Regions from separate parts of the Homo sapiens genome. Here regions 1, 2, 4, 5 and 6 are each linked to region 3. Evidence: promoter capture Hi-C in 16 types of primary human blood cells and fetal thymus (Javierre and others, 2016). All regions are on one chromosome and are shown on one strand. Each heading gives the region's core, a stretch centred on a gene start or on the middle of the fragment in contact. The rest is flanking DNA. Distances are from core to core; before and after follow the strand shown.

Region 1 (4,147 bases), core at 553-3,052, 1.1 Mb before region 3:
ATCTTCACCTAGTACCTTTCTTGATGCTGCTATAGCATATGATTGAAGTATCTTACTTTCCAGAAGTATCTCCAGCATTCCCAATGAACTTTGTATTCACATTTTTTTCAAAAACTGCCTAAACTTCTTCACTTCCAAAGTTGTCAATATTTAAAACTTTCTGTTAATTAGATGTGAGAAACTGTAGCTATTAAAATGTACTGCTTAATTCACATTTATTTTCTGATACTGGACACTTTGCCTTAATAAGTTGCTGTTGTTCTCTCTCCTGACTCATCTTATGTGCTGTGCCTTCTTCATATTTCTATACTCTTTAAAATGTATCTTCATATGCACACATAATGGCTCTAGAGCTCTCTGATAGATGTAAATTCAACTTTTATCCTTTGTTTTCCATAGTTTCAATATTTACATGATACATATATATGCTATATATGTTTTATATATGTTTATAAAGATATTTAACTTATTCTGTTGTAGAAATATAGGAAAATTACTTAGTCATTTTTAGAAATGAGAAAATATAAAAGTAAAAGTAATAAAATTACATTTATCTATAATAACACTGCCTGTATACAATCGCTATTAATATTTTTGTGTAATATCCTGGTCACATATATACTCATACATATATACACACACACACAGAGATACATATCCTTTAAAATATGATTCTATTATATTCATTGTTTAGAAATCTGTTTTATCCCACTTAATATATCTTTTGCATTTTTCCAGATCAGTTTTAAGAACTACAGCCAGCCCTGGGTAGCCATGGGTTCTGCATCCAGATTCAACCAATTGAGGATTGAAAATATTTGAAAAAAAAAAATAACAATACAATGATAAAAAATACAAATAAAAACAAAGCACTATAACAAGTATTTACATAGCATTTGCATTGTATTACGTGTTGTAAGTAATTTAGAGATGAATTAAAATATACTGGAGGATATGCATAGGTTATATGCAAATGCTATATCATTGTATGTAAGGGACTTGAGCGTCTAAGGATTCTGGTATCTGTAGGAGTCCTGGAACCAATCCCCTGCAAATACTGAGGGACAGCTCTACGTTTTATTCTTTCATTTACTCTGATTTAACCAATCCATTTATTAATTTGTTCTGTTAACACAATACTAACATATTTTTGCGAACACATTTTTATAGACATCCATAATTATTTCCTTACAATAAATTAAAAAGGAAATAACTAGGTGCGAGAGGTCATGTGCATTTTTAGGCTTTCAATATACATTGCCAGACTACTCCCAAAATAGTTTTGCCAGTGAATACTCTGCTAGCAGTATACCATGGTGCCTGTTTCTTCTAAACTCTAAACTGGTATTTCTATACATTACATACATATGTCTAACAATAGATTTGAACTTTTAATAAAACTGTCACCTGCTTTGCTCAGAATATTGAGAGAAATATAAATTACTGTATGTTCTATAGATGAAAGGCACTGTTAATACTTACCTACAATATTTCTTTGTAATTATTGTTTTACATCTATTATAAATTGTTAAAATTCAAGGTTTATTGTCTGACTGTAGTGAAGAATATTAAGTTGGCCTTTTTTTAACTATTATTTGTAGACAGATTTTCCAGTCCTCTCTTGTGTACTTATTTTCAAGATGTAGCTTGTTGAAGTACAAACAAACTGATGTAGAGCTAGAAATCTAAAATTTCAGTCTTTATTCCAGTCCTGGCTTAAGCACTTATGAGCTGTGTGTTATGTAATCTTTTTGGATAGTTATTTTCTCATCCATAAAATCAAAATAATACTTTCTGTTTAGATTACCTTAAAGCATTTTTTGTGAAGATCAAATAAGTTAATATGAAAGTAATTTATAAACTGTAATATACATATGAAATGTGTTATTTTCATATTAACCAGATTGCTGCCTAATGAGAAGATAGTTGAGGAAAATGGAAGAGATTAAAATATCAACCTTCAAAAATAAATATTTGAGGTTAATGGTGTTATGCAATTTTGTGGCTATTGAAAAATTTACTTTTATATATTAAATTCCCTCTTCCTAAATTTCTCTTATAGATTCATTTTCCTAATGGAAATAAGAAAAAGCTGGTAAAAGGGAGGGAAATGGCAGAGATTGGTCTTGAGACCAGTTTCAATAATGGTCATATACTTTTGTGGATAGGGGCAGCTAAACATGTGTGATATGTATTTAGCAGGTATTAGGTGTGAGATCCCTGAATATCTACTCAATTTAAATGGATTAGCTGGGAACATTTACTTTTATTGCTGGTCATGTGAGATTTTATTATTCAGTAATTTGACTGTGAAAGTACAATGAGACCGTTCAGACCCAGTCTGTTTCTTGCCACTTAGACTCAGAAATTCGGCTCTGGAAAAACTGAAAATCCCTTCATCTAGTGGCAAGTACAGTTTTATCATTTATGTTAAACCATATTGCCTTTTAGGTACCTTATTGGATTTTACTGCATGCACTGAGATCTCTAAAAGGTGAATATCTGTCTATCTTAGATATCTGAATATTTTTCATAATTAAAAATGTTCAAGTTTTTATGCAAAGAATGAATGGCTTCTATAATATTATGATCACTTTTTCTAGCATTTCCACATAAAAATTAGTATTGGCCTGATGATTTTATCTTGTCTCCCAATACCCTTAACACCTAGGTTGTGGCATGCATTATTAGAACACTTCTAGAATCAAACTTGACATAATAAGCATTTATATTCAGATATAGAGCAGAGGCTCTTGAACTCATCTTTCTGCCCACTTTTGGGTTCTTGCAACATGCTATATATATGAGATACAAAGATGAACAAGACTAGATTTCTTTTTTAAAAAGCTCACAGTCTTGGAGGAAGAAAAAAGAGAAGAAGAGAAATACATGATACACTGTAACATTGTAATACTAACTTAGAGAAATTCAATTTCTTCATTTGTAAAATGAGGATAATAATAATAATAATAATACTAGTTCCCTTATAGGGATATTATTATAATTAAATGATAAACTGTTTAGCCCAATGCTTTATACACTGTAAGCATCCAAAAAATGTTTGCTGTTATTACTGTTACTACTGCTGTTGTTATTTCCAAGTGTTAAGATAGAGACCTACTGAATGTGGGAACACAGAAGAGAGGCTAATGACTGAAAGAACGCTAATTAAAAACAAGATTAGTTGACTTTACTGCTTTTTCTCTGCAATTTTTCATTCACTGAGCTTCAGGTTTTCTTTAACATGTGAATATGTATAAATCCAAAATTAAACTTATGCATATTAATGTCAACATTGATTCCCTAAAGTTACTGGAACGCATTTGGAAATGAAGTAGGAAACTCCGTCATTGTGGTTCATTCTTCAGGGTTCAGCCTAGTGTCCTGTACAATTAAGTGCTTCACAGATGCTGCCCCCTACCCCACTTTCTTTTAAACATTTTTGTTCATTGACCCAGATGTCCCTTTGGGTGAGTTTTGAGAGGACACAAGATACACAGAGTTGGTGACTATTCAGAATTATTTGAGGTAGTTCTTATTCATATAATTTTTAAGCAATTCTTTTTGGTTTAGCCTTCTGAGATATACATTTTCAAAGTTTACATCTTTTTTTTTCCAGTTTTACATACACTTCAGCTGCACTTACTATTCCATTTGCCTGAAATGCTCCTACACGTTTTTTCAGATGTATGTTCAAATGACACCTCATCAGAGAGGACTTCCTTGTCCACCTTTCTAAAGTAACAACTCCAGTTGCTCTCTGTCCCCCTACCAGCTTCACCTTCTTTTTTCACTTTAGCACCTGACAAAAGCTTTGCAAATCTGCCATTTTAACGATAGTGCCTGACACTTAGAGAATGTTTTCTATTTTTAAAGGCATTTAAGATTCTTAACTAATTGATAGTGTCCTTGGAAGTAGGTATTGTATTTACAGAGAAAAGATATCAATATCATCAGGGAGCAGAAAGGCACAAACATCCAAGGAAGAAAGATAATCCTCTGAAAAGACAGTTGAGAAGAAAGGAAGGTAACTTTCCACTGAATTTCCCTGCTAGTTACTTGGTAGAGACCAGGAGTGGACAAACAGTTTTGATCAAGGGCTGTTCACCTCTAGAGAAAAATCTAGAATTATGGGTCAAAAACAGTG
Region 2 (4,142 bases), core at 1-2,500, 1.2 Mb before region 3:
TGTTACTCATCACGATAGCAACGTATGTATTTTGGCTCATAGAAGCCTTAGGAAAAATTGTAACAGGATAAATTTTTTGGTTTCTTTACAAACCAAAATATTCAAGTTTCTAGTTAAATGAGGCAAATGGGAGGAAGCATTGTATTATATGTGCATTATCAGTTTTTCTCCTGAGGAAGCATTTAGGCAAGTTTTGTTTATTCCCATGTTTGTATGTTCCTACTGTTTTCAGATGTTTGCATGAGATTTATATCATTTAGTTGCAGAATGTTTTCATTTGGTTGGAAAGGCAATTGACAGTAGAAAGAAGGACTCTTCATGTTTAAAGATAAATGTTTACTTTTATTTAGAATAAATATTATAAGTACTCCAGAAGTAATTCTTATTTATTCACTCTTTTATTTTTTTTTAAGTTTTCAAATTGCTGCAAACCTCAGCATGGAACGCTATGCCCTAGTATTTGGTGTAAATACCTTCATTGCCCTGGCACTGCAGACGCTGCTCACTCTAATTGTGGTAGATGCCAGTGGCCTTGGATTAGAAATTACCACTCAGGTAAGATCTCTCCTTTGGCATCGAAGGTAGTATGTGTGACTTGATCAGGGTGACAGAAGTATATGTATGCTTAATGAAAACAAATCCAAACAATAGGGAACAGATGTAAAGTAAAAGCATACCCTCCTTCCTTCATTCAACATCTTCTCCCCTATCCTTAGTTCTTTTCTCCTGGGAGGGTGTTGGGATTGTCAGGTCTTAGAACATTCCCGAGTGTAACTCATCAGCCCAATGGGGCTGTTTCAGCTGAGAGGTAATATTGATTCCTTACAGACCAAGACCTTCTGCTTCCTCATCCATTATTTCCCTCTATACTTAAATCTATGCTTGGAATACTGTATCCCATGTTTGAGATTCCCTGCTTCATCTCACAACTCTTTAAGTCTCCTCCCTTCTTTATTTAAAACACCCCTCACCCAAATACCACGGTAATGCCTTGCTGCTGATGAACAACATTATGATTTGTAACTTATGACTATTGAGAAACTTGCACCAACACCCAACAACAATGTGAATACTTTTTACGTTCAGGAATTGTATAGTTGTATATGCCTTCATGCATTGTGAGTTTTAAGTATATCTTGTTTTGTACTTTGGTAAAATGGGCAACTGAATGAATCAAGAAGTATTTACTCCCACCCCCATCCCAACCCAAATGATTTCTTCCCAACATATTAGCCGTAATTAACTTTGTTTTTACTGAAGCGATCTAAGAGAGAAATAGTAATAATAGACAATGTGCATTGAGTGCCTCTACGTGTCAAGTGCTTTATATAGGATTTGTAGGGTTGCTGTATTAGACATGAAGAAGATGAGTCTGAGAGATGTTAAGTGACTTGTCCATACCATCACTAGTAGTGTTCCAGAGCTTAGAGTTAAACCAACATCTAACCCCAAAACTTATTTCAGGATGGAAAGTAGGAGAGAAACTTAAGTGCTTGCCATCCTCCCTGTATAAGGGAGAGTTCCCAGGACTATTACAGTTGAGGGAAACATGGCTGTCATTGGAAGTGGAAATTTGTCAGCAGATTCTTATAGAAATGGTGGATTTAAACACGTGGAATAATAGGATTTTATGGGTGGTGCTGAAACCCTAACTGCCATGATTGATTAATGGCTTCCTGCAGAAGTGTAGCCAACATTGAAAGAAACTGGCTCAGTGATTTAAGGCCATACTCTCATTGTACTTTTGAACCAGTTTGTAAGTATTTAGTATGTTATTTTAAGAAGATGATGATGATGATGATGTTAATAAACCATATAGTCACATTAAAATTTCGCTTAGGGCATCATCCGCCGCAAACTAACACAGGAACAGAAAACCAAACACTGCATGTTCTCACTCATAAGTCGGTGTTGGACAATGAGAACACATGGACACAGGGAGGGGAACAACACACATTGGGGCCTGTTGGGGGGTGGGAGGCAAGGGAAGGGAGAGCATTAGGACAAATACCTAATGTATGCAGGGCTTAAAACCTAGATGATGGGTTGATAGGTGCAGCAAACCACCATGGCACACGTATACCTATATAACAAATCTGCACATTCTGCACATGTACCCCAGAACTTAAAAAAAAAAAATTGTCTTAGGGAAGAATTCTTACATTAAGTAATCCTGTAATGGAATATAGTTGACCTGCCGCTGCCCTCTTCTGGGGAAAAATAGAGAAGTTCTTGATCTTCAGAATTTGGCCTATTTGTACCCACCTATCAGCTTGAAGGCAGAGACCAGGACTGAATTATAACAATAACAGCAACAACAATAAAAGTAATACTAACAGCATTAGCATTGTGCTAATAAGCATTTATGATCTCACTGATGGGTACCAACATCGCTGTAAAGTGAGAACTACTATGAATTCCATTTTGTAAGTGAAGAAGGGCTCAGAGATGAAGTATCTCAATCAAGTTCACGCAGCTTGTAAGGGATGAAGTCAGGATTCACACTCAGGCAGTCAGGCTTTATTTAGTACCACCGTGCTGTGATGCTGCTTTGTGTCTTCAGGGTCTGGCACGTGGTGTAAGTATGCAATATTTTTTGAGGCTTTATGGACAAATTCTGAATATACTTTATTATAGAGTAATCCTCTTGTCATTGATAATTCAATAAACTGCTTTTCCCCCTTCTAGTTTTTGATCTATGCCAGTTATTTTGCACTCATCGCTGTGGTTTTCCTGGCCAGTGGTGCAGTCAGTGTTATGAAGAAATGTAGAAAGCTGGAAGATCCACAATCAAGTTCTCAAGTAACCACTTCATAATATACTGCTGAAGGGCTTCTTCTTATAGCAAGAACTCTGCACAGCAACTGCCTGGATGTGTTTGATTTTTTAAAGCGTAGACATATATTTATGAATGTGCATTTCTTGACTTCACAGCAGCCACTTGACTAATACCTTGTGTTCCGGGAATAACATGATACTATTCAGAGGAGCCAGAAGTAAAGTTTATTTCATGGATTATTTATGAGAGCTAATTTAAGGATGACTTTTTTTCTGATTCAAAAGTGAACTTGATTTTAAAAACCAGTCAAGAGCAATCAAAGCAGCACATGGTGTTGTATACTTCATTAGCAAGTGAGTTTGGTGTTTTATAGGTCACATATGTCTGTATCTACTTAGCCAGATGCTTGGCCTGGTGGGACCAGGGCTCCACAGAGGCCACAAAATGTTGCAAGTCATGATGGATGGAAATATGTTCTAACAGCATCTGCCTCTATTCAATTTAATTCTTATTTCTGTGTTACTCATGTACATTGGTCTTTCTACATAGTTATTCTATCACTGGCAATATTTGTTCTGGTTTAGTGTTCTGTATTTTAAGGTGTACGTATCATTTCTAATTTTAAGTTATTTTAAAAAAATTCATCATATGAATGTTCTTGGTTCCCATTGTGACGATTATTTATTTCTGTAAAATTTGTTTAGAAGTACGTTTTTGCATTATTCATATGCTTCCCAGAGAAGCTCATTTAGTTAGAAAATAAGGCAAGTTTTGAAGCCTGCTAAATGAAGAGACTTAAGAAAGCTTAAGGTACGCTTGCTTGTCTTTAAATCTTCAATATGAAGGACTATTAATTCCAAGATTAAAAGTTCATATATAGGCTAAAGATGTAACTAGGCCATTTGTATTTGTATTCCCTTTTATTTCCAAAATAAAATGAAAAATCTTTTTTTAATAATTTCATCCCTATTTATAGTTTTTATATTAATTTGTTTTTCTTATCCAAGTAAAGATGTCAATAGGAATTGCATTAGTCCAAGGCCTTTTTCATAAACTGAGCCTCTTTTCAATTATTTCAATGGGACAGGAACTAGGATAGATGTGATTCCTGCATTTTTTTACCTTAAATCTGCCTTTGTTTCTAAAGGTAGATCATCTTGAATATTTGCTTAAAATTGCTAGTGATTTCATTACCAAGTTACTTGAAAAAATGTTCTATATGCATTTAATTCTGAAATCAGTCTACCAAGGGGCTGCTAGTATATGTCAGACATGAAAACTATTTTAAAGCTGACTTTGTTGCCTTATCTTGAAAAGAATCTAGATAGGTGCTTTTAACTGGGGTATTAACTTTTTTAGAATG
Region 3 (4,354 bases), core at 371-2,870:
TGAAATTACTCTGAGCCTTGACCAATTAATAAAGGCAACAAATTAAAAAGAACCCACCAACTTGTTTTGAAATATCAAAAAGTTAAATTTCAGTGACTCCAACATTCGATCCCATAGAATTACTCCCTCAAGGTGAAGATTCAGAGAGCAATCTTACATTCGGAGATGTCATGCTAAGTCCCAGTATCACACAAAACAAAACCGAATAAAATCAGCAACCACAAACGTGGGTGAAAGCAGCTTGCTGAGAAAGAAGAACTTGCTGAGAAACCAGAAGAAACACTGATTAGTTTCCAGTTGGCCATATCATCTTAACATCCTCATTTCACAGATGGGGAACGGAGGCTAAAGAATACACCAAAAAGCGAAGAGAAACGTTATTTTGTCATCCAAAAAGGAAAACAAAAGCTAAAAGCACCCTAAATAGAAATGCAGCATTCTGTGTGGTTCTACAACATAGGACATTAGTGGCCAGGTTTCAGCACGATCAAAACTTTTCTAATAGGCCGGGCGCGGTGGCTCATGCCTGTAATCCCAGCACTTTGGGAGGCAGAGGTGGGCGGATCACTTGAGGTCAGGAGTTCGAGACCAGCCCGGCCAAGATGGTGAAACCTCGTCTCTAGTAAAAATACAAAAATTAGCCGGGTTTGATGGCGGGTGTCTGTAATCCCAGCTACTTGGGAGGCTGAGGTGGGAGAATCGCTTGAACCCAGGAGGCAGAGGCTGCAGTGAGCCAAGATCGCGCCACTGCACTCCAGCCTGGGCGACAGAGTGAGACTCTGTCTCAGAAAAAAAGAAAAAAAAGCTTTTCTAATAAAACAAACCAACACGCAGGCAGTCTCCTGAGGCGCTGGGTGTCTAGAGACTAGTTGTGGGCAGTGTGGACAGAGACACAAGATGTGGTCCCTGTCCTCATGGGATGGGGGCAGTTTCTCACCCCCAATCACAAGGCAATGTGTACAGGGGCGGGTGGGAGTGTCACACCCTACAACCTAAACCGGACAGAAAACCAAGGCAGAGCTCGGGGCGCGGCCACCAGCCCCGTCGCGAGGTAGGGACCGCCACCCCAACACCCCAGTCCGGGTCTGGGGCCCCGACCCACCCAGCAAAGGCTCCTTCCGCCTGGACCTCGGGGCCCCCAGCCCTACCCGGCCCTAAAGCGCATTCCCCGGCCGGTGGGGCCGGGGCCGACAGCCCAGTCGCCCACCCTCCCACTCGCAGCTCAGTCCGGGGATTTCCTCCTGCGCCGCCCCCTTGTCAGGGAGGATGGGCTGAAGGGGCGCGGGGCAGAAAAGGACGCCGCGGCCACTGCCCCGTGTAGTGCCAGACCTCTTCGCGGAGCCCTGCAGAAGAAGAGGAGGAGAAGGGGCAGAGCTACCGTCCAGAAACTCCAGGGAGTCCCCGCAGGCTTCCCAGGCCCGGGCAGGGGACGCAGGGCGGGAGCGCGGCGAGAGGGGGCCGACGGCCCCGGGCTCACTCACCTCGGACAGGCCGCTCCGGTCCTCCGTGTCCTGCCCGCTCAGCACCTTCTTCAGCTTGTCCATTGCGGCCCAGTCCCCACCAGCTCCAGCTCCTCAGCGGCAGCCTGTTGCGCTCGCTAAGTTGACGGCTCTTCCGGGTGCTAGGCAGCCGCCCAGCCGCCCAGGCGCCAACCGCGGCGCGCCCCGCCCAGGCACCTGCCCACCGGGGGGCTCCCGGCATGCCCCGCGCGCCCGCGCTCGCCTCCGCTTGTTTTGGTCCCGGGGGGCGCGGCGGGCCGGAGGGGCTGGGATTGAAGACCACCAGGCGCTGCCAAACACTAATTCGGCGTCCAGAGCAGTTTCAAACCGGAACGGGCCGCGCTCCCTCGCCCTACTTGATCCAGTCAACGAATGCCGAGCACCTACCACGTGCAAGGCTCCGGAGACACAAAGACGGGGGAGAAGCCTTGTGCAGACGGGAACAAAGGCTGTGGTTCATCCATATTGCGATCGTGCCTACACAGGAAAAGATTTTCTTTTTAATCACTCAAGGCCTTAGTCTGGTGTGGTGGGGCGTGCCTGGAAGCCCAGCTACTCCGGAGGCTGAGGCAGGAGGCTCACTTGAGCCAAGGAGTTCCAGGCTGTAATGAGCTATGACCAGGATACTGCACTCCAGCATGGGCAACAGAGCGAGACTCTGTCTCAAAAAAAAAAAAAAAAAAAGTGACTGAAGGAATGTTGAAAGGAATAATAGATTGTTAAATTGTTTTGTGTTTGTACAATTGTTTTTTTTTCTGACCTTAAAAAAACTAAAAGTAGACTGGGCATGGTGGCTCATGTCTGTATTCCCAGCACTTTGGGAAGATGGCTTGAGCCCGGGAGTTCCAGACCAGCCTGGGCAACATAGGGAGACCTCATCTCTTCAAAACATTCTTAAAAATTAGCCAGGCATGCTGGCGGGCATCTGTAATCCAAGCTACTTGCGAGGCTGAGGAGGAAGAATGGCTTGGACTCAGGAGGTCAAGGCTGCAGTAAGCCATGATTGTCAGTACAGTAAGCCACTGCACTCTAGCTTGGGCAACAGAGTGGAAACAATACAAATGGCCACCAACTGATTAATGGTAAATAAAATGTGACATACCCATGCAATAAAAAAGAATGGAGTACTGACACATGCTACAACGTGGATGAACCTCGAAAACATTGTATTAAGTGAAAGAAGTGTGGAGCCCGAAAATTTGAGACAGGTCTCAGTTAACCAGGAAGTTTATTTTGCCAAGGTTGAGGAACAGCACCTGTGACACAGACTCAGGAAGTCCTGACGACATGTGCCCAAGGTCGTTGGGGCATAGCTTGGTGTTATACATTTTAGGGAGACATGAGGCATCCGTCAATATGTGTAAGAAGTACATTGGTTGTGTTTGGAAAGGCGGGACAACTCGAAGCAAAGGCAGGAAGACTCAAGGGGGGAGGGGGCTTCCAAGTCACAGATAGGTGAGAGACAAATGGTTGCACTCCTTTGAGTTTTTGATTAGCCTTTCCAAAGGAGGCAATCAGATGTGCATTTATCTCAGTGAACACAGTGATAACTTTGAATAGAATGAGAGGCAGATTTGTTCTAAGCAGTTCCCAGCTTGAATTTTCCCTTTAGTAATTTGGGGGGGCCCAAGATATTTCCCTTTCACAGAAGCTAGACACAATAGACCATATATTGTATGATTTCATTTATAGGAAATGTCCAGAATAGGCAAACCCATAGAAACAGAAAGTAGACTAATGGTTGCCTAGGGATGGAGGAGGGGAAATGGTAGTAAGAGACTAATGGGGTGATTTAAATGTTCTGGAATTAGATTGTGGTAATGGTTGCATGCACAGCTCTGAACATACTAAAAACCATTGAATTGTATGCTTTGAATTAACTGTATGGCATATGAATTCTATTGCAATAAAGCCATTTCAAAAATGCTTAGAACAGTGCTCAGTATATATTTCACAATCCATTAATATTATCTATTGTAAAATGTAACAGGCATCCACTCTTATCTTTCTCCAATGTGTCTGAGTCTGAACCCAGAATATGGGCTCCTGATTTACCTACATTTATATTTGCACATTGTGCAATTGGCCCATTACAAGGTGATTCATTGTAGCATTGTTTGTAATAGAAAAAAATTGGAAACAACTTAAAAGTTCATAAATGAGGGAAGTGCTTAAATAAATTATGGTACATTCATTCACAAGAATACTAAGTAGTCATTAAACACAGAAGAATGAGGAAGGTTTAATCAATGTCTTCAGAAGGTTTTTTCTGACTGTGCCACACCATCCCTTGAAGGATCTTTGTAAACATAAGTCTGACTCATTTGTTGCCCTGCTTAACATCTCCCACAGTGTGGTAAACTGAAAAATGTTCCCCAAAAGATACCCATGTCCTAATCTCTGGAAAGTGTACATGTTACCTTAGACAGTGAAAAGTGGAGTGGGGGTGGTATTTTGTGCAGGTAATTAAGGATCTTAAAATAGATTATGCACAATTATCCAGGTGAGCCATAAATGCAATCATGTATATCCTTATAAGAGGGAAGCAGAGGGAGATTTGACACCAACAGAAGAGGAGAAGGCACTGTGACCACAGAGGCAGAGATGGGAGTGATGCAGCCACAAGCCAAGGAATGCCAGTAGCCACTAGAAGCTGGAAGAGGCAAGGAAAGGATTCTCCCCTAGAGCCTCCAGAGGGAGCATAGTCCTGCCAATAGCTTGTTTTCAGCATTTCTGGCCTCCAGAACTGTGAGAGAATCCATTTCTGTTGCCACCAAATTTCTGATATGTAACAGCAGCTGCAGGAAACTAATGCCCATGTTCCCTACCACCTACAGATAAATTGCTGCTGACTT
Region 4 (4,024 bases), core at 1,433-3,932, 1.2 Mb before region 3:
TGGACTTACTACTTCCCCTCTTCAATCTTTCATTCAACTGCTCAGAATCAGGATTTTGTTTTTATTCTTCTATGGAAACGATATTTCAAAATCCTTGATAACTTTTTATCTGTAGTATCAATGGCTTTTCATTTCTCTTTTTCTAATTTATATGCAGTATTTTATGATTACAGCCACTTTTTGTTTCCTGGGTTCCACAACACAATGCTCTCCTAATTCTTCTTCTGCTCTGATTTTTCCTAATCTGTCTCCTTTACTGAGACCCAAAACAGGAACTCTTGAGCTGAAAAAATTTCTCCAGTTAAGGGCAGGGATAACGTGCCTGGCTCACAGCTCTTGATTCTCATGTTCCTATTTTCCCAGTCATCACCACATGATGTGTTTGGGTTATGGTACAAAGGTAGCAAGCACTGCAATTGGAAAGAATTCTGAAATGAATTGGGAAAAGTGCTTTCTCTCTTTCTTATATAAGGCTTGTTCAAAGCAGCTTTCTGGAATGGTTGGTGATGCCTGTTTCCCTAGCGGTCATGTGGTCCTGCAGATTTTTTTTTTCCCTTCTAAGTTACCACCAAACCCAAAGAGCCATCACTACTCTAAGAATGTCCTGGCATCATTTAAGAGCCATCAACTTACTTTAGCACCTCTATTTTTCAACTAGACTGCTTTTTCAATTTAGTTTTTGAGATCCTTCTATTTTTATGGAAGTTTGTTTGGTATTAGAGGATAAGCAAAGATGAAGGGCTTACCTTAACATTGCTTATAAATTTAGAGGAGAAAATAAGTTCTCAAATACTATAAAGATGTTATTACATTATAGGTCTTTATAGAGCGAGAAACAAAATGCTAAGGGAATTCAGGAGCAGGAGACTGACCCACTAATATGAACAGAAAGGTTTCTGTATTTTAGCCTGAAAGTGATGGGGAAGGATTTTATGCAGGGTGCCTTTCAGAGAGATCATTCTATACACAGTGTGGGGGATGGGGGAAGCAGTATGCATAAGCAGACATAAGAACAGAAAAAGGGAGGTTATTGTAATAATCTAGCTAAGAAATGATGGCACCTTGAAGCAATGGGACTGAAAAGTTTAAGAGACACTAAGGAAGAAGGGCTGTCAGTTTTGTTAAATAGGAGAATGTGGTGGATAAAGGTCTGGGAGAAGAAGGGGATCTAAATCAAGCCCTGAGGATACCTAACATTGTATAGTGAAATAAAATGGTTGGATAAAAGAGAAAAGCCTGTAAGCTATAAAGTTATATAAACCTCGGAAAGAATAGTTCGAGAAAGAGGGAGTGGTCAACTATACCAAATGCTACTGGCAGCAACTAAGTAGGCAGTGACACAATTTCCCAACAAAGAGAATAGAAAAGGAGAAACAAAATTTTGGATAAAAATGATTAATTTTAGGTACTGACTCATTCAGTAAATAGCTGAGCACTTAGTATGTGCAAGGGATTATGCCAGACCTTGAGGAAACATAAAAACACAAAGTCCCCAGCCCTTTAGGAGTTTACAATTTGGGAGAGGGATGGAAAATAAAACTATTATAATTTAATACAGTAAAGAGCAGTTACAGATATAAGTGCAAAGTACAATGGAAGGATGGAGAAGGAACACTTCAGATTGCCAGCAAGATTCAGAGAAGGCAGGTTCTTAAAGGTGGTACAGAGGTTGGGCAACAAAAGAGGTGTGGGGAGGGTAGTCCAGACAAGAAAAAGTATGTACAGAGGCATGAGATACAATGGCCTATGTGCATCATGAAAAGTGGTTAAACCCTGCTGGAATGTTAAGTGCAGTGGGTAGTGACACTTGGGAAATGATTCTTGAGAAGGGGAGATGGAAGAAAGATTATAAAAAGCCTTCTATACAATATGAATGAATTCTGATTCAATAATGAGGGAGACTGGGAACTGTTTGATGACTGATTTGGCCTTCTGAAATAACTCTCTGCCAGTAGTGGGTGGGCAGGAGCAGCTAAGAAGGAGGGCAGGGATATCAGTGAGGGGGCAACTGCAGTGGGCTAGGCTGGAAGTCAGGTGTTTGAACTTGGGAGGGGATAAATTAGAAAAAAACTGGTAAGATCTGTAAAATCAACAGGACTAGGGGAATGAAGGAAATAGTAAAAACGATAGCTACCATTTATTGAGAAATTACAATATATTGGAAACTGCTGCAGGCTTTATATGTGTTTTTTATCGAAATCTGAAAACAGCACTATAGAGTAGGTATAATTCATCAAGATAGGGAATACAGGAAAAGGAGGAGATTTTTAGGGGTGGGGGGTTGTACAAATGCAAAAGCAAGGAGAAAAGAGATTATATTTTTAGCCATCTGTGGAACAAGTAGATGGAAATACCTGGCTGGATATAAATCTCTCAGACTCAGAAAAAAGTCTGAGATGGAAAAGTCACAAGCATAAAGCTATGGTAAACAGAATAACACCAAGAGAATAGAGAAAGTATGTTATGTAAAGAAAGCTCAAGAGGGGTCACAGGAAGAGGATGCCCCTCCCCCTCAAAAACTTAGAAACAATGGTCACAAAAGTAGTGAATCGTTTCAAGAGTATGGTGTTTAGGAACGAAGAGATTTTGAAAAGGGGAACACAGATTCCTATGAAACATGAACATCTAAAGGAGGAAAAAAGTCTATGAAGAAGAGCTCAGAGAGGTAGCATCAGGGCCAAGAAAGAGTGATGTTACAAAGGTCAAGGGAGTTTCCAGGAAGGAATGCTCGATACAGTATAATATGATAGTAAATGTTCATGACCTTTTTAAGAGTACTTACTGAGAATAGTGGGGCAGGAAGTCTACAGATTTAAGTGACGGTAGGAATTGAGGAATGGATGGTGTTTAAGTACAAACATGTCTGGACAACTTGTCCAAGATTCTTGGATGTGAAAGGAAGGTGATAAAGCCATATCCAGACATCTTACAATAGAGGGAAGATTTTTCTTTTTTAGATGAATGATGCTTGGACATGTTCTTAAGCCAAAAGGAAAGAGCCAACAGAGAGAAGGAATAACTGTTGAGGGTGAAGCCAGGGCCTAGAGGGGAGGTATGCTTAGGAGAAGAGGAAGGACACCTTTTCCTCTGAGAGAAATGTATGCTGCCATACAGATAGGCTTCTAGATATCTAATGAAACCTTCAGGCAGTTTTCTGCCTCTGTCCCCTTTTTCTTCTGTGGATTAGGAAGGAAAGTCATCTGCTGAATGTGAGGTAGTATTTGATGGGTACTGAAATAAAAAGGCAAACAGCTGAACTGACACAGGACTGGGGTTTGCAGCATACTCGGAGAGGAAGATAAGGCAGTAAGGCACTTATGAATAGAGTCTAGGAAAGCTATGTGGGAAGAGAAACTAAAAGAGTGAGCTGATGAGATACATAAAAAAATATAGGGACCAAGGGAATAAAAACAATTATATGATCAAAGATGTGTTCACATCCAGGGAGTCAGAATGAAGAATCAGAGTTGGAAAGAAAAAAAGTTGAGATCACAGATCACAGAGACAGAGATGTTGAGTTGAAGATTTTAATAGTGCAAGAGTTATGGCGACAGGCAGGGACCCAGATGGGGACATGAGAGTTGTAACGAAGGTGAACTTGGTTGTTGTCACAGACATGTGAGATGAGTATTTGACAAGCCAGCTGCATGGACCCTGAATTCATCCAGGACTATACTATCTGTACTGTAGTATTTGATACATTTCCATCTATATGTGGAAATTAAGTAATTTCTTAGATCAGAAGTAATCTATGAATCTACTAATTTAATCTACATTAAAAATTCTACACAGTGGTTTTTATATCAAAATGAACTCATGAAAAGGATTATCAGTGACTTAATAGCTAAAACATAGGACCTCTTTCAAAACAATTACTTTTTTTGTCCTTAAAAATAGAACAGTAGTGTTAGAAAATATTAAAGCGCAGAAGAGGAAATAATTTTCTCCAAGATAACACACTCAATAGCATGAGTGGTTTAGATCCCACATTTCCTAATTCCTAATGCCAAATGCTTTCCATGAT
Region 5 (4,539 bases), core at 785-3,284, 1.3 Mb before region 3:
TTTTGTTATTGTTGTTTTGTTTTTTGAGACGAGTACTCGCGAGTCTCGCTCTCCGCTCACTGCAACCTCCGCCTCCTGGGTTCAAGTGGCTCTCCTGCCTCTGCCTCCCAAGTAGCTGGGACTACAGGCGTGCATGCCACTATGCCCGGCTAATTTTTGCATTTTTAGTAGAGACGTGTTTTCGCCATGTTGGCCTGGCTGGTCTGAGACTCCTGACCTCAAGTGATCCGCCCGTCTCGGCCTCCCAAAGTGCTGGGATTACAGGAGTGAGCCACCGTGACCAGCCAGAAAGCTATTTTTAATAAGTAGGCTTCTCTTTCCGAGGCCTCTCTGGCTTGCTTTCTCTTTCTTTCTTCTCTTCTACTAAAGCACTGAATGTAAATACAAAGCGATTGTCAAGAAGACCACCTGTTTTCTCTCTGTAGTCCTGATAAGAAGGGTTGGAGTTTAGGGGACTAGACAATTGAATAATATCGATTAGCAGTCCTCAAACATTTTGGTCTTAGGACCCTTGTTAGAGGTGCCCCAAAAATCTGTTGGGTTTTGTGGGTTATACTTATTGAAAATTGCCATATGGTAATAAATTAAACCTGGAAAGTCTTACAAACACAAGAATATACAAGCACGTATTCTCTCATCCTATAAAGCGATGATGTCATCAGACATTATATAGCCTCTGGAGTGGAAAAGGAAATAAAGACTTAGCATGGTTATGAAAATAGATTTGAGCTCGTGGAACCTCTGAAAGGGTCCCAAGGACCCCCAGGGCTTCCTCGACCACACTTTGAGACTCATTGAGATATGTAAATACTGCCAGTTGTATTTCTTCACAGATTAATCAACTCACAGATTTGGGTGCATTCATTTGTGCAGTCTTAGAAACAAATCTTTCCCTTTACCAGTATCTTATTCCATCTGGTAGACTCATTTCTGCTGCTGATGCTTGAAAAAAGTGTCATTTGCTACCACAGGAGGAAAACGGTGCTAGATGGATCATAACATACAGAAAAGCAAGATAGTTCCAAAATGTTTCCAAGAGCTTCTGGCAGGATCTGTCATTCTACAAATACTGCACAGGAAAAATTGCTTTAAATGCTGCATCTTTGCAGTAGAAAGATTAGGATTGAGCCAGGCTGTGAGTCAGGCAGAAAAAGGCACACAGAGGGGGATGAAAGAAAGCACTGGAGAGTCTTGTCATGCTTTGCCCTTGAAAACTATGCCAAGACCTCTTTTGTGTTTTTAAATGAAGAAATCCATCATGTTTTGTGATTGCTGTAATGACTCAGGATCTTCCACCTTCCTTTTAACTATAAACCGTAGCGTAGTTAGGTGTTTGTTTTCTTTGTATCATGCTTGCAAAAAGTGACGAAATAAAGTTAAAACCCTTTAACTGGGACTCCATTACGGTTCTGCTGTTCAGTGACCAGCTTGTTCATTATTCTCACAATATTATCTACTTTCTTCATTTCAGTCTGTCTCTTAGATCCTGGGCTTCTGATGTCTTTCCATGGCGGATGAATACAATTTAAAACACGAAAGCTGCTGGAGGAAAGGTTTAACGTTCCCCCTCCCCAAGGTGAAATCTTTGCCTGGCCTCAGTCACTAAGTCTCTCAGGAGCGGAAACTGAATGGACATTCCGGAGACGGTGAATAAGAATGATAAACGGTGGTTGGGGAGAACAGCGCGTTTCTTCCAGCGGAGGACTAGGCCCACAGGACGCATTCCCAACAGATGAGCGGAGCCGACAGCAAGTGTGCCACGAACGCCAGCTGGCCGCCTCACTAGAGAGAGCTCCGCCGCAAGCCGCCGCTTTTGGAGTGGAGTTCCACATGTCCTCCGCGCTTGAGCCCTGGGACGTCAGAGGCCTGGCGTGCTGCCACCGCCCCAGTTCACGTCGTGTGACCCACGACCAATGGAAGAGCAGGCAAGTATTCCCGGCGTCCGCTGTGATTGGTTCCCGGAGTGGAGGCGGTGGCAGAGGGTGGGCCTTAGGACGGGTCTCCCTTAAACTGGGCGATCAGGCAGCGACCCTAGAGGCGTCTGTAGGGTAAAGCTGGGGGTTCTGTAGCCGGAGGCGGCGGCGAGTCCAGAACGTCCTGGCCTTACAGGGAGAAGGCGTCACTCGCGGTTACAAGTGCCTGACCCTCACTCCAGTTGGCGGAGGAGGAGAAGGAAGGGGCCGGGCCGGGTCCCCTCCCCTCGCGCCCCGGATGGATGTGCCCGGCCCGGTGTCTCGGCGGGCGGCGGCGGCGGCGGCCACTGTGCTCCTGCGGACCGCTCGGGTCCGTCGCGAATGCTGGTTCTTGCCGACCGCGCTGCTCTGCGCCTACGGCTTCTTCGCCAGCCTCAGGCCGTCCGAGCCCTTCCTGACCCCGTACCTGCTGGGGCCGGACAAGAACCTGACCGAGAGGGAGGTACGCGCGGCGGACGCGGGGCGCGGGAAGGGCGGGCGACCGGCCTGCGGGTGGGCAGCGGAGGAAGAGAGGACCGAGAAAAGCGCTCGAGCCATTCTCGGCAGAGATTTCTGATTTTGCCAGTTGGAGGTCGGCTTCGTGCTCTTCTTTGTGTTCATGATTTTCTGTTTTCTTCGGCTCTGTAGGACGAGTCTCCTGCGAAGGGCTCAGAACACGCGTCCAGAGGCCCCGTGCCTTGTGCGTCAGGCAGTATGCTGATCGTGTTGTAATGTGGCTTAGCGTGACTGCCCAGACTGGTCCAGCAGTTCCTGCTGGGGGCGAGGGGGCAATATTTTGACAAAGAAGTGAAAACAGCAAAGTGTACTTTGGACACGGCTTAGTAAATATTCATTGACTGAAAGTAGGCAACCACTGCTTTTCTGAAAGGATCTTCCCTCTACCTCCTTCACCTGCTTCCTGTCCATACCTTACTTTGTTTGCATTTGGCAGAATGGGTGGGCTTAATCAAGTAAGGACAGGACAGAAGTACAGAACATCTTAATTTGTCTTGATTTTTAATTGGGTGAGGTTGTGTCCAAGGATATCCTGCCCCTCTCTACCTTAAGACCAACCTCCAGGGATAAAGGCAGATGGTGAAACATAATTGACTTTTAATTATAGTGTTTCTTGTATTGCGAATTGTTGCTTCACAGATGTTAGTTTTGCTTCTCAGATACAAGGTGATGTCTTTGAAGGCCTTCTGTGATGTTCAGGGTAATTGAGAGCACGTAGTCCATCATCAAGAGTTTCTTGCTGATTGATTTTTTCCCTAGATGAGGGCTTACAAATAAAGTACTTCAGAAGCGCATAGTGTACTTTAGAAATGTGCTGACCTATTTAAGTGCATGGTCAAAACCAGCACTTGATTTTTGCAGAAGAAAGACAATATATAAACTGAGAAAGAAATTAAACCCAAAGTACTTCCACAAAACCGAAATAAAGCCGATTCAACACCCTCTTCCTTGAATACAACAAAGGGTGAAAGCTGAGGTCTCATGTTCTTTTTCCTACTATCAGTCAAGGGGCCACTTGAGAGCTTTTTCTTTTTTCCTACACCTGTTCCTTCCACCCTGCCTCCTTGCCCCAGGTGCTGTAAAATACTCCTCCCATTTAAACCTTACTCTTCTCTATGTGGGTAGTAGTCAGTCACTTCTTTTGAGTAGCCACTCAGTAACCCTGCATAACAGGTCAGAACAAGAGATGGCACTACCGGAATCATTTGCACACTGGCGAGATATAGTTACTCATAGTTTGTTGTTTGCAGTTTGTTTGTTGCAATGCTCCGTCATTTTCAAGGGCACTTGAGAGAGAATTAAGAATCAGTATTGACTTACGTATTGAGGGTTTCACTTGAGAGTCTGACATTTGTTCACTTCTAGCAAGTATCACTGACTTTTTGCCTGGCCTTAAATTACCCTATTGACCTGCCAGTTGTGGGATGGAGTGGCTGGGCCGTTTCTCAGTCTTGTGGATCATTACATAAGCGACCGTAACAGTTATTCATAACCTATTTGAGTTTTAATACTGATTTAAAGCAATAATGTCAAAACAGCCAAATTTCATGACAGAATGATTTTACAAGAAAATTACTGCACTGATATGAGAAAGTATGATTCTGGAGACCCAAAACAACCACTGAATCTGAGGTGTAGCCACTGAGGCAGAATTGATACTGCTGTGAACAGCTGACCATTAAAGTTTCATGTGAACTGCCATGTGATCTGCACAGTTTGTGCGCCTTTCCGGATAGTGAAACACAGGGAGAGAAACATGTTCCCAGTGTTGATATTTGAAAGCTGATCTGTTTTGTCATGTGCTCTGGGTAGAAGGTTGCTGTGTGACGTGCTACCAAGATCATGTGCTCTGTCCTATCAGAAAGCTTTTCAAGGTGAGTGAAGTGTGTTCAGGGGGCACAGAAATAAAGCAGAGTTGCCAGGCGTAGTAACTATTTGCTGATTGTGTAACAAAAAACATAAGTGTACTTCTCTTATTGCAAATTAGTTGAGGAAAAGCGTGGGATTTGAAGAGAAATCTAGTAGTCTGGGGAAGGGGTGTCTTCTCAGAGGACCACCAAATCATGGCTGA
Region 6 (3,963 bases), core at 741-3,240, 1.1 Mb before region 3:
AAAATTGGTGGCTGTCCTTGAGTTCCATATGTATTTTATCCCTAAATCCACATGGGGACCTAATCTTACCAATTTACTTGTCTCCTTCATAGATCTCTCTTATTTCTCTTCTCTTTTTTATCTTTTACATTCCTCCTTAAAACAGCTTCTTGTCATCTCTTGAGCTCAGTTAGTCTCCATTCTTCCCTCCAAATTACTAACTGATGAAGAACTAACACAGGAGATAGATGTAGATCAAAATATTAAGTATTAATTTTACTTAGGCTGTCTTGTGAAAGCGTGTTTGAGAATGGTTGAGGCTTTCTTTCTATTCCTATTTCCTCTATCCCTTACACTGATCTGGAACTTGAGGCCTGCCTGAGGAAAAGTTGGATCTACAGAACAAACTAAGGGCATACTTGCCCAGGGTTCTCATCCTGCCTCCCAGCCCATGGAGCACAGGAGAGAGAGCACTAGAGAGAAACAGGCTTCCACTGCAGGTGCCGGACTCTGATTCCAATGTGCTTAACATGTGAAAGCAGGAGAACAATACGCTATCCCTTACTTGTACACTATCCCCTACTTGAGGGTCTGCAGGTCTGAGAAAAAAGAGGTCGGGCCACAAATAACCAGAAACCCTTAAATATGGCCGGACATGGAGAAGCAAATGGAAGAAGTAGAGAGAGAGAGCACTTTCTTATGGGAACAGGGATAGAAGTTACTTTACTCATGAGGAGCAAGAGTACACATTCCTAGTTGTTTTCTGGGTTTTATACCTTTAAGCCAATTGGCTGCCATGCTCTAGTAGACTATGGCTACTTCTCGGGGAACAGACCAGATGAATATTAGTTTAGTCTTGCTCTCACCTTTGGGAAACCTTTCCCTCAATACCAATTACTGTTGCTTTGTATATTGTCCTAGGACCAGTGGTGAGCAGTTGAGTTTTGGCTGCAGAAGGGCACCCTAATGCCTTAGAGGAATACCTTAGTTCAGTAACAGAGGCCTTGCTAAAAACTCACCCCCAATCTTTTTCTCATCTTTACTTATCTATAGTATCGTTGTCTAAGATGGCATGCTATTGATTATACGATAGACCCAACAACAGTGTAACTGCCTCCCAAATAATACAATGAAGAATGCCTTCTCATTATTAAATTCCCAGGGAGAAATTGATATTTTTTTCTGTAAAATAAGAATTCTGCCTTTCCATTCTACAATTCTCAGTCATATGGTCCTTGGTCAGTTAACAGATTAGAGTTGAATTTCCTTTTCAGCTCCAGCTTGAGCCATCTTTCCTTAGAAAGGGTTTGATTGATAGCGTATTTGGGTTAATTAATATCTTTTTGCCATCTCTTTTATACTTGCCCTGTTATGCTTTAGATATGTCTCTTGTAAATAACATATAGGTTTTTTTTCAATTTAATCTGGAATGGTTATATTTTCATTGGTAAAGTTAATACATGTACATTGAAATATGCTGTGATTATTGTTATTTTTGTATATGTTTCTATTTTACTGTTTTCCTGTTTTTCTATTTTTTTCTTCTTGCCTTTTCTTTGGATTAGTTGAAGAAATTTTTCTTCCTCTCTTCAGTTTTTTTTTTCTATTATATGGTTTTCTATTGAAGTTATAACAAATTACTACCAAGTTAGTCACTTAAACAATACAAATTTATGATCTTACAGTTCTGTCAGAAGTCCAATCAGATCTCATCAGGTAAAGATCAGGTGTTGATAAGACTGCATTTCTCTTGAGGCTCTAGGAAAGAATCAATTTCCTTGCACATTCCAACATCTTGAAGCCATCCACATTCCTTGGTTTGGGGCCACCTTTCTCCATCTTCAAAGCCACCAATAGCAGGCTTGAGTCCTCCTCACACTGACATCTCTCTGGTTCTCTAAAGCTAGGAAAGATTCTCTGACTTTAGGGACTCATGTGATGAGATTGGGCCCAGGGGAATAATCCAGAATAATCTCTACTATCTCAAGGCCTGTAATCTTAATCACATCTGCAAAGTCCTTTTTGGCAGGTGAGGTAATATATTTATACGTTCTGGAGATTATAATGTGGACATTTTTGAGGGGTAGTGTTATTCTGCCTACTATATTCTCTGTTGCTTTAGAGGTTATGTGATTTTTATACTTGTTCTTTATTGGTTAGGCTTGAAATTTTTTCATATATTTAACTTACAGTTCTATAATAATATGGCTCTCTCCCAACTCATACAACAAGATTAGGACACTTTAGCTCTAATCTTCTCTCTTAAATCTTACATAGTTTTGTTATTATTGTTGTTTTTGGACATTCAGTTTTTTTGCCTGCATGTTAGACATTCTTTTATTTATTTATTTATTTATTTTGATAGAAACAACATTTGCTTAGATTTACCTAAACATTTGTTCACCAATTTTTCTTGCATATCAACCTGTCCTTTTAGAATATTTTCTCTTCTTGTTATTCTTCATTTCTTCATTGTAAACTACCCGTTTCTTTTTAATCTGCACGTTTTTTATTTTACCCTCTTTCTTTAATGATACTATTGCTAGACACACAATTCTAAGTTGATGGTTATTGACCAATTTTCTTTATTCCCCTTTTCTGCTATTAGTAGTTACAGAATTATATATTCTATCAATTTTTAATATTTTTAATATATGCAATTAAGGGTATAAATTTCCTTCTAACTGCTTATAACTATATCCTATTATTTTTGATATGTAATTTTTATTCAGTTTGAAACATTTTTTACTTTCTTTGTGTTGTCTTCTTTGGTTTATTATTTATTTAGAATTATGTTTATTTCCAAACATACGGAGATTTGTTTTTCTCTTTTTGTATTGGAATCTAGCTGAATTGCATGTGTCTAGAGGACATATTCTTCATGATTTTTGCCTTTCAAACTGGTTAAGATTTGCCTCTGGCTTAGAATAGTCAATTATTAATGATCTATGTGTGTTAGAAAAGAATGTTTAGGCCAGGTGTGGTGGCTCACGCTTGTAATCCCAGCACTTTGGGAGGCTGAGGCGGGTGGATCAGTTGAGGTCAGGAGTTGGAGACCAGCCTGGCCAATGTGGTGAAACCTTGTCTCTACTAAAAAATTACAAAAATTAGCCGGCCGTGGAGGCGTGTGCCTATAGTCCCAGCTGCTTGGGAGGCTGAGTGGGAGAATTGCTTGAACCCGGGAGGTGGAGGTTGTAGTGAGCTGAGATGGCACCACTGCACTCCAGCCTGGGTGACACAGCGAGACTCCATCTCAAAAAAAAAGAAAAAAAAAAAAGAAAGAAAGAAAAGAAAGGAATGTTTAGTCTGCAGTTGTTTTGTATAGTTTTATATATTTATTCATTAGGTGAAGTCTGTGAATTGTGATGTTCAAATCTTTCACATATTTACTAATTTTTGGGCAGCTTATTCTATCAATTGCCAAGGTTTTATTAAAATTTTCTAATGTAATTATCATTTGTCTATTTCTTCTTGTAGTTATGTTAGTCTTTATATTATAATTTTAAGGGTATGTTACTAGGTGATTTAAATTGTTATATCTTCTTGGTAAATTGAATCTTTTATTACTATGAAGAGACCATCTTCATCTCTAGCAATGCCTTTTACTTTAAACTGTACTTTCTCTGATATTACTATAGCTGCACTGGCTTTCTTTTAGTTAACATTCGCATGGTATACCTTTTCCATTCTTTTTACTTTAGATTTTCAGTATTCTCTTCTATGTGTGCCTTTCATTAGTTTTTGTTTTTGTTTGTTTGTTTTTTATATCTTTTTTTTTCTTTAAGTTCCGGGATACGTGTGCAGAATGTACAGGTTTATTACATAGGTATACATGTGCCATGGTGGTTTGCTGCACCTTTCAACCTATCATCTAGGCTTTAAAATCCAATCAGATTATCTTTTTAAAAAAATTTTTTTATAAATACAGTTTTATAATCTGCATCTACTGTAGAGCACTTATTTGTAACGTAACTACTAATATAC

What was found. The method cuts DNA at HindIII sites, captures the fragments that hold promoters and counts their contacts. A CHiCAGO score of 5 or more calls a contact.
Region 1: a contact is called between a fragment that was not itself captured here and the fragment with the promoter of SFT2D2 in region 3, in 2 of 17 cell types (naive CD8 T cells and neutrophils). The highest score is 6.4, in naive CD8 T cells.
Region 2: a contact is called between a fragment that was not itself captured here and the fragment with the promoter of SFT2D2 in region 3, in 1 of 17 cell types (total CD8 T cells). The highest score is 5.8, in total CD8 T cells.
Region 4: a fragment that was not itself captured here is called in contact with the fragment with the promoter of SFT2D2 in region 3 in 1 of 17 cell types (naive CD8 T cells); the score reaches 8.1 in naive CD8 T cells.
Region 5: the fragment with the promoter of SLC19A2 here is called in contact with the fragment with the promoter of SFT2D2 in region 3 in 1 of 17 cell types (naive CD8 T cells); the score reaches 5.2 in naive CD8 T cells.
Region 6: a fragment that was not itself captured here is called in contact with the fragment with the promoter of SFT2D2 in region 3 in 1 of 17 cell types (naive CD8 T cells); the score reaches 5.2 in naive CD8 T cells.

What each region holds. Positions count from the first base shown.
Region 1 is chr1:169,355,967-169,360,113 of GRCh38, reverse strand. All of the region lies in intron 1 of NME7 (NME/NM23 family member 7), which reads left to right. Among named protein-coding and RNA genes, the nearest start is that of NME7, 9.8 kb to the left of the region's middle. The HindIII fragment of the contact is 4,025 bases long and covers 1-3,814 here.
Region 2 is chr1:169,464,524-169,468,665 of GRCh38, reverse strand. SLC19A2 (solute carrier family 19 member 2) reads left to right here. Exons shown (of 6, transcript NM_006996.3): 4 at 1-22; 5 at 414-555; 6 at 2,689-4,142. The coding sequence ends at 2,817. Among named protein-coding and RNA genes, the nearest start is that of SLC19A2, 19 kb to the left of the region's middle. The HindIII fragment of the contact is 4,671 bases long and covers 1-3,585 here.
Region 3 is chr1:168,223,270-168,227,623 of GRCh38, reverse strand. It overlaps SFT2D2 (SFT2 domain containing 2), which reads right to left and starts at 1,620. Exons shown (of 8, transcript NM_199344.3): 1 at 1,482-1,620. The coding sequence starts at 1,544. RefSeq lists enhancers at 414-463, 584-663, 966-1,699 and a silencer at 1,324-1,953. The HindIII fragment of the contact is 4,334 bases long and covers 808-4,354 here.
Region 4 is chr1:169,382,346-169,386,369 of GRCh38, reverse strand. The region is part of intron 6 of BLZF1 (basic leucine zipper nuclear factor 1); the gene reads right to left. Among named protein-coding and RNA genes, the nearest start is that of BLZF1, 16 kb to the right of the region's middle. The HindIII fragment of the contact is 9,513 bases long and covers 1-4,024 here.
Region 5 is chr1:169,483,439-169,487,977 of GRCh38, reverse strand. SLC19A2 (solute carrier family 19 member 2) reads left to right here and starts at 2,034. Exons shown (of 6, transcript NM_006996.3): 1 at 2,034-2,415. The coding sequence starts at 2,212. RefSeq lists enhancers at 1,600-1,669, 977-1,897, 1,680-1,929, 1,733-2,027, 2,570-2,629 and a silencer at 2,210-2,389. The HindIII fragment of the contact is 10,248 bases long and covers 1-4,335 here.
Region 6 is chr1:169,314,554-169,318,516 of GRCh38, reverse strand. All of the region lies in intron 3 of NME7 (NME/NM23 family member 7), which reads left to right. Among named protein-coding and RNA genes, the nearest start is that of NME7, 51 kb to the left of the region's middle. The HindIII fragment of the contact is 4,282 bases long and covers 1-3,963 here.